Linked DNA regions of Homo sapiens: all the other regions are linked to region 1. Evidence: promoter capture Hi-C in 16 types of primary human blood cells and fetal thymus (Javierre and others, 2016). All regions are on one chromosome and are shown on one strand. The core of a region is centred on a gene start or on the middle of the fragment in contact, and the rest is flanking DNA. Distances in the headings are between cores, read along the strand shown.

Region 1 (2,941 bases), core at 258-2,757:
GCCAAACAGGTTCCAGGCTAATAGGATTTTCCTAAAATGAAAGAATACCCAAGCACTACTGCCTCACAGCATCACGAATAGCTGCACCTTGTGATTAAAAAAAAAAAACCCTGGAAACTCCAAAAATGAACTAACTATAAGAATAGCTGGGGGGAGGCAGGTTGGTGCTCATAACCGGTCCTGGGAACTTTCTAAAGCAGGTGGGTTCGCCGGTGTTGTGCCTCAGCCTGAAACACAAGGAAAGCCGGAGAGACCAACCAAATACCAGGACTGCCTGTCACAGAAGTGCTGGTCCCCAATCCAGGATGACATTGTTACAGCTTAGTTTTCAGCACACACACACACACACACACACCCCACAGACACATACATACGCACACAAGGTTAATTTGTTCAAAGCAGTATGTTTTCAAGAGCTCGCTGAATAAAGACTGTGGGTGTCATTTAGGTAAAGTTCTCCAAGACTTAAGGATTACTTAACTGTAATTGCAATTTCCTTAAAGAATAGCAAAACATTTGCTTACATGTATCTCTGTCTGCAGTTCCCACTTCTCATTGGCTTGAAACTTCTGTGAGAATCCCACACAAACATAGAGCAAATCCAGCCCCGCGGTGTTCAGCTAGCCTGTCTGCTTGTCTATCAGCCGATGCGGCGCAGTAATTGCTAGTGAACTAGTAATTGGCCTCCCGAAATTTAAAAAATACATACAAAAATCCCTTAAAACGACAAAGTTGCTGCCCTTTCCAGAAAAGAAAGAGGAATGAAGCGCTGAGAATTTCGCAGCCCTCTCTGATGCTGGCTTTTGAAACTGTATTAGAAAATACCCACTCCCAAAAGAACGCTTCAAGATGGAAATTACAGAGGCGCAGCTTTTTATAATTAACAATATCATTGCATCACTAGCTCATGCCTTTTCCAATATCCTGACACCGCCTGAATCGCAGCCATAACCATTTTCCACCCATCGGATTTTTAGCAAGGCTTCCAGACCCTGGAGAAAGAAAAGTCCAGCGCCGAGAACCCACCTTTTTATTCCTGGCATGTCCAAGACGCGCGAGGAGGAGATGCGAAGGCGAGAAGAAAGCTCGCGGGCGGGACCCCCGGAGGAGCTCGGGCACGTCGGCCTCCTCTGGGCCCTCGGGGCTCGCGGGTGTTTTATTCCAGAGGGGCCGAGCGAGTCGTGGAGAGGACACGGGGAGAGCGCCGGGGTCCTCCCAGCCACTGCAGAGCCCTCAGCGCAAGCACCTGGTTTTGCTTAGCCCTCTTCAGTAATTCAGCATTAAACCAATTGGAGGAGGAATGTTAAAAATGAACACTTCATTTTCTAAGTATGTTAAACAATGCAAATGGGGCCTCAGTCTGGACACAGCTGGTTCAGATTACAGCGCTCACCAACTGGCTAGACTCCTCACAACAATCTTGGGGCGTCTGCCAGGGCCCAGTGCTCGGCGCTGGGAGGAGAGCCCTTCCCCGGCCGCGCTCGGCTGCGAGCGCCCGGGCAGAAGGCGAGGGGCGGGCGCGCGCAGGGGTGCGGGGGCTGGGAGGGCCCGGGCCCCTTGACCTTCCCACCCAGGGGCGGGGCGGGGCTGGCAGCGCGGCCCGGCGGGGAGGGGCGTGCACGCCCGCGCTGCGTGGCAAGGGGACCCGCGAGAACGTTGTCGCCTCCGGAAGGAAAGGGACTTGAACTCACGACCCACGCAGCTCCAGGGACTAGAAACTCACGATCGATTGGGAAACCAGAACCTACGAAGCAGAGGCTTGGGGCGAGCGACGGGAGAGTCGCGATCTTCCCGAAGAAGGGGTGGGGAGCAGCGGGGTGGGGTGGGGGGGAAGAGGATGGAATCCCGCTGGTGCGAATTCCAGACTTCAGCTTGTGCAATGCAAGTCTTAGGACGCTTTTCTCTCCCCGCCCTCATTCCCCGATTCTCCCTGGCATTTTCTCGCTTTCCTGGAAAAGTGTCCCCTGGCTCGAAAGTGATTTTAACAAGTTAAACGGTGATTTGAAGAAGGGACAGTCTGGAAAAGCAGAATGGTGGAGACAGCACATAAGACATGCTGAGTCCTTTGCATTCATTCTAGTGGAGGCTTCAACCTGTTTCTTTTTCCTGTTTGTTTGTTTGTTTGTTTGTTTGTTTTTAAGCCATTGGAGTACTTTTGTCAATGAAATCTTACAGAAGGCACTCACTCTATAAAACGCCAGTGGATGGACTGTGGCCTATCCCATCTGCTTCCACCTGCATCTTCCTACCTGCAGCCGAAAAGCCCTGATCCAGGTCCCCTGTCCTCACCACCACTCTAAGCAGTAGGAATGATCATCTCCATGTTATTAGAGGTGAAGATAAGAGAGGTTAGGTAACCTCCCCATAGTCACGCAGCTATTCATTGGTACAGCTGAGCCTCTGGAGTCTACATATTTAGCCTTCCCTAAGGCATTTTTGGGGGTAAGTAAATGGAATTCTACCCAAAGGAGAATAACAGAATGTGGATAGTTGTTGAAGCTGTGTCCATTATACTAGTCTAATCTATTTCCTTTTACGTGTTTGAAATTTCCTGTAAAACACTTTTTTAAATACCTTATGTTTATAAGGTTGTTCATCCCCCCATTGTTTGTAAAAGCAAAAGATTATAAACACCTTTAAGGTCGATCAGCAAGGCACCAATAGGGTTAAATAAAGTAAGGGGCTTCCAAAGGGACTATTGTGCAACCAATTAAAACCTAGACACTTAAGAGTCCACATCAAACGACTCCATTTATATAAAATTCAAAGTCAGATAGTGACTGGGAGGCAGCCCAGCCCCTTCTGGGTGCTGGTAATAATCTAATGATTGATCTGGATGCTGGTTATGTAGGGGTGTGTACATTTAATATTTGTGAAGTCTTATGTATGTTATATCTTATTTTGAAAAAAAGACTGAAACAGCTCCGTATGCACTGCTATT
Region 2 (2,941 bases), core at 281-2,780, 250 kb before region 1:
GGGGAAAGATCATTGGAGGACAGGAAGCCTTGAAGCTAGGTACTGCATGGATCATCCATATGGATGGTGAAGTCACCAAAAATAGTGACAAAAGTCAAGTGGAGAGGAAGGCAGGGACCCAGAGATTAAACTTGTAAATGAATGAATGTGAGCGGTGAGGAGGTCACCAAATGCTGGCAACCAAGAAAAGTTAGAGGGAGGTAAAGTCTGAGTTCAAAAAAGCTCCATGTTTCAAACAAGAGGACAGGAGTAGTGATTAAGCAGTAATCCTAAGGAGCAAAGACAACAACCCTCACCCTGGGTTTTGAAATATGTGATATGTGGGAGGGCTGAGGGGAAAGAATGTCATCTGAGGATGACCCAGTACTCTTTATGGAAAGAAAGTTAAGGGACCATTCAGAGAAAAAGTGAGTGATATGGGGGAATTTGTTAATGACAGGCCACAAATTCTAATGAAAGGATTTGGGTGGATAGAGCGGGATAAAAGTTTGAATCAAATTAGAGGACATTCAGAACTGTATGTGGGATAGGATAACCAGAAATGATCTGCGGAAGCTTATGTTCTGGTAACTGATGGGAGGCCTGATGGTTTATGTCTTAAGAATATCCTAGAGGAGGAAAGGGGGTAATAAGTCCAAATTGGAGTACATGGGGCTGCTGCATAGCTGTTCCCACCATTAACTCCATGTGGTATGAAGGCCAGGAGGACAAACAAGGCCTCGCAAAGGAACTGCTAGTTGGGTGTGGTGGCGTGTACCTGTAGTCCCAGCTATGTGGGAGGCTAAGGTAGGAGGATTGCTTGAGCCTAGGAGTTTGAGGCTGTAGTGAGCCATGATTGTGCCTCTGCATTCCAGCCTGGGCAACAGAGAGAGACCCTGTCTCAAAAAAAAAAAAAAAAATTGCTGATTTAGGCAGTTGCAGCTTGATACTGTGAGAACTTCCTTTATTGCTTCAGCACAGTGGTGACCAGTTGGGGAAAAGGTGCTTTCACCTAAAGAACCTGTTGCTGAAGTTGTTTGTTTTCTTGAGAGGTTGAGGTGGCCTCATGAGTGTGATCCCAAGGAATTAAGACTGGCGCTTCTCTCCCATGACTTTCATTTGTAAGGCAGAATCAAGCATGAGGAGTTCAGAATGACCGCTCTCCTATGGCTCACAGAAGTAAGGTAGGTATTGGTGTTTGGATAAAGACGAGGAGGAGGAGGTCCTGGCTAGGACCTATTCACAGAACAACATAAGAAAAGGAGCCAAGTTTCTATCTGGATTGACATAGTGTAGAATATGACAGCAGAGAGTGGAAAAAGACACAATTATTAGGTTGGTGCAAAAAAAATCGCGGTTTTTGCCATTAAAAATAATTGCAAAAACCGCGATTACTTTTGCACCAACCTAGTAAAACTAAAGGAATTCCACAGAAGCAGACTATAAGCCATTAGGAAGTCAAAGAGATTTGGGCAAGGTTATTTGTCTATCCCTATACTGATGCATACTGTTTTAATCTATTGCTTTATAATAAGTCATGCTAGGACAAATTTTTGTTTTGTTTTTTTTCTCTAAAATTATGTTTGTTATTCATGGTGTATCATTCTCCCATATGAATTTTGTGTTTGGCTTGCCAATTTCTACACCCTCCCTGACACAAAAAAGAAAACACACACACACACACACACACACACACACAAACCAAAAACATTGTTATAATTTTTCTTGGAATCATATTGAATTGATAAATTTGTAATACATTTTATTTGTAATAAATTTATTTATAAAATAAATCTTTATAATACCAGAACTTCCTGCTTATAAACATGAAATCTCTTATTTATTTTGGTCTTTTTTTATGACCTTCATTAGTTTTATAATTTCTACACAATAGGCCTTGCAACTCCTTTTTTTATTCCTGGGTACTTTTTGGGATTTCTTACCTTAATAGGATTTTTTAAATTATAATCTTTAATTAGTCCTTGGTGGAGTGATTTTTATACATTGTTATTCTATCTCACAGCCTTCTAGCATACCCATATTTGTTCTGAGTTTTTCTACAGATCTTTTTGGATTTTTTTGTAGGTATACATATTATCTACGAGTAATAAAATTTTGTTTCTTATTTTTTAAGTTTTAAATATATTTTCCTTTATATTCACTGAATTTGGGGTCTAGGAGGTCATCAATTAGCTAGGAACAATAATTAAAATAATACTATTAGTAGTTGAAATGTGTAATGACATTGTGATATTGTGATATAACGAGAAATACGTATTTGGTTTTCGTCCCTGGCTCCTGATAGAGAACTCCTAAAACCTCCAGAATTTCCTGCATGATGGAGTGCTAGGAACATCCTTTGTTATAACATTTGGTCTTTGGCCCCAGTTCCTGATACAGAACCCCTAAACTCCTTGGAATTTCCTGGGTGATGGGATTGTCTTTTGTTCTAATGAAGCAACTCCTGACAGACTCCCAGATACCTTTAAGATGTGGGGTGGTCACCAGTAAAAGCAAGCCACGATTAGAAGCTTAGAGCCTTCAGCCCCACAGTGCATCTCCCAGGAAGTGGGGAGGGTGTGGAGACTGAATAAATAATTGATCAATGCCTATGTGATAAAGCTTCTCCTTACAGTGCAGGTTTTGGAATGCTAAAACACATCTACATACCAGGGGTGTGGCGTGTCACAACTCCACGGGGACAGAAGCTCCTTTTCTTGGGAATCTTCTGGACCTTGCCCAACTGTTTACTGTATCCTTTGTTTTGACCTTTATAATAAACTGGCAAACCTAAATAAACGTTCCCCTGAGTTCTGTGAGTTGTGCTAGCAAATTATTGAACTCAAGGAAGGATTTGTGGGACCTCCCCAAATTATAATTAGTTGATTAGAACTACAACCTGGGACTTGTGACCGGCATTTGAATTGGGGGACAGTCTTGTGGGACTGAGCCCTTAATCTGT
Region 3 (2,941 bases), core at 143-2,642, 220 kb before region 1:
TTCCTGACAACTGCTGAGTAAATTAAATGTAACTGGTGTTTTTCCTTCATCAAAACTGACTTGCTTATTAAATACATTTAATTGACAATAGAAAGCTCAAACAGTTTGATTTTTTTGAATTCATTCTTATCACATTAACAGGGGAGAACTGAAGGTTTTTAGTGCATTTTTAAAAATCATCTGAGAAAACAACTTGTTTTCACAAGGTAAGAGGAAACAAATGGTAGATTAAAATTCTGTCGGCATGGTGCAATGCTCAAGTATATTTTTGGTGTAAGAACGAATTTAACATTAAGTGGAGACATTATCACAGTTAAACTCTGAAAATAGTCCCTTTACCAGAAAAATCTTATATCACTTTGCTAAACATTCAAATTAAATGATACAACACCATTATTAGAATCTTTATGCCTCTTCATGGGTCACCTGTGCAAACTCGAGAGAGTTAGTATGAAGCACGTGGTGGAAATTCTGGTTTTAATGTCAGCAAGCTTGTTCTGCAAGCTTTCTTATCTGCCATCCTGCAAGCTCAAGAATTTCTGCTACCTACTGGTTTCTTTAATTCTTTGGGGCATAGTTCCAGTCTCATTCTTCTTATTTTCCCTTCAATATTACAACTTTTCCTTATTTGATACTATCTTCTTTCAACTTTCAGCTCATAGTTAGAGTAAAAACATAGACTTTAGCCTAAGACGAAGTCTGTCCATCGAAATATTTGATTTTTAGCAAGCTATTTAACTTCTTGGAGTTCATATTCTATTCAGTAAAATGGGGATAACAGGCACTTCACAGTGTTGTTGTGAGAATTAAATGAAAAATACCTTAAAACATCTAACATATTCTATACAGAATAAGCACTTGACAAGTATTACTTCTGAATTCCATATCTCCATACACTGCAGCAACTTCTTTTTCCTCATCACACTCCCCTACTGACCTACTTAGCAGTTAAATTACCCCCAGTTATCATTCCTTTGTAATTATTATAAGTTTTACATAATTACTGGATACAAGTCATGTATCTGGGCATTTTCTCTTCTCTGGCACTAAATAAACATTGGGAATTGCCCCATTGAAGGAAGCTATTTCCTCCCCCAGTTGGTTCATTTATAGTTACTCCATTATTATGGAATAGTGATCACATTATAAATTCATACTCCAGCAGGGTCCTTATTTTAATATTTTTTACTGTAATTACCTCTTTAGGAGATGCGCAACTAGTTGTGTTCTTCTTTTTTATATTTTTTCTCAGTTTTCTTCCATATAGACTGAGAAGAAAGACCCAAAGTCAGGAGCCAAGTTTTCCCTGTTGACTGGCTTAGCACTCTAGTCACCTTTGGTAACAGCCAATCAGCAGCTACCAAGTACAGAAGCATGCTTAGAAAATCTAAAGGACAGGCAGTTGGAATTTCCAACTAACTGCCTCTTTCAGAGCACCACAGGCCATTTTCTTTAAAAACCGATGAGAGGTGGAGGTTCTCCAAACCTTCCATCTTTAATATAGCATTTATCTAGGAAGGATCAGAAACCTACATATGATTATCTATAAAACACTTCAATGATCATACGATCATTGAATGCCTGGGGAAAAACATAAATGCTAAAAGCTCATGCTAACTGCATATAATAAGGTTTAAAAGGAGGCAATCTCTCAAAGGGGAGGAGCTTCATAACTGGGTCTTTAAGGAAGACTGGGACTTAAAAAAAATAGAGAAGGCCTTATTGACAGGTAAACAAGACAAGCAAATACACAAAGCACAAAGTTAGAAATGAGCTGTGGACGCATGGAAACAGTGAGACCAAATGGCATGCCAGTTTGTCCTCCGTATTCATGTTGTGTGACTGTCCTTGATGTGGTTGTATGTGCTCACTAAGGCTGCCTTTGACTGAGTACCGAGTGAGCTGAGCTTGAACCTTTCTGTCTTACCCAGCGCCCTGACTAGTCATGAATGGTCACAGAGGCTGACACATACTTTTTGATAATCATGATAATAAAACGTGTTTTATACTCAGGTTGTCCTTCAGAAGTCCCTTCACATGGCCATGTAAAACCTGCTTTACCCTCATATCCTGAAATATGTCTGGTATCTGGGTTTAATCTATTCCTGGAAGAGCCCGCATCAGAAATATATTTCTCTCACCCTTTCTGGTGACCTTGACCTAAAGAAGAACCTGAAACAGTGTGCAAAACACAACAAAATATATTTCCTTATAAAGACTCAGTTCCCAGAAACTTGGAGCTCTCTTTTTTTGTTGCCTGTTTCCCACTAGGGAAGGCAATAAAGCTTTTATGGAAGAAGATGTAGCTTTCAGTTACCATAGCAACACTGCTACACATTAAAAAAAAGTCTGAGCAATACTGAAGGTACACATTGAGAGCTCTAAAAAGAATGATGAAGCAGGTGACATTTGCCTTCTTTCTCCCCAGCAACCTCTTAGTTTTCTTTTCCTCATTTGCCCCCACATTTTGTTTCCTAACTTACGAAAGAGTAAAGGATCTGTTTTCAATCACAGTCACTGATGAATTACACTTTGATGTGAGTACCAAGACTACTCCCACAGTAGGTGATTCATCTGTAACAGTGGAATGAAAGGGGTTCTTCTGCCTGAAAAACAAATTATGCACTGGGCTTCCGTCTAGTCAGGAGGATAGGGGGCAAGGCAATGGGCTGATTGAAAGAAGGATGACTTTGACTTTTTTTGTAATTTTTTGCTGGCTATAACAGGGCTTATTATGTGTGAAAAATGAAAACAAGTATAGAGAAATCAATTACGCATAAATCAACAACCAGATATAACCACTGTGGACATTTTGACATTTCTCGAGTCTGTTTCTTCTGCATTTATATGTCCTTCTTTCAGTCATTGTTAGTCTGACCATTTTCTCGTGTAACTCAAGTGTTTTATTTAAGTCTTCGCAGTTGTAGATCTAAAAATAACG

The links. Contacts are between HindIII fragments. The CHiCAGO score rates a contact against its expected background, and 5 or more counts as called.
Region 2: a contact is called between a fragment that was not itself captured here and the fragment with the promoter of FBLN5 in region 1, in 2 of 17 cell types (M2 macrophages and naive CD4 T cells). The highest score is 5.9, in M2 macrophages.
Region 3: a contact is called between a fragment that was not itself captured here and the fragment with the promoter of FBLN5 in region 1, in 1 of 17 cell types (naive CD4 T cells). The highest score is 5.6, in naive CD4 T cells.

What each region holds. Positions count from the first base shown.
Region 1 is chr14:91,946,187-91,949,127 of GRCh38, forward strand. FBLN5 (fibulin 5) reads right to left here and starts at 1,508. Exons shown (of 11, transcript NM_006329.4): 1 at 1,027-1,508. The coding sequence starts at 1,043. The HindIII fragment of the contact is 8,571 bases long and covers 1-2,941 here.
Region 2 is chr14:91,701,029-91,703,969 of GRCh38, forward strand. The region is part of intron 7 of CATSPERB (catsper channel auxiliary subunit beta); the gene reads right to left. Among named protein-coding and RNA genes, the nearest start is that of CATSPERB, 30 kb to the right of the region's middle. The HindIII fragment of the contact is 1,955 bases long and covers 554-2,508 here.
Region 3 is chr14:91,730,732-91,733,672 of GRCh38, forward strand. It overlaps CATSPERB (catsper channel auxiliary subunit beta), which reads right to left and starts at 1,355. Exons shown (of 27, transcript NM_024764.4): 1 at 1,199-1,355. The HindIII fragment of the contact is 1,781 bases long and covers 503-2,283 here.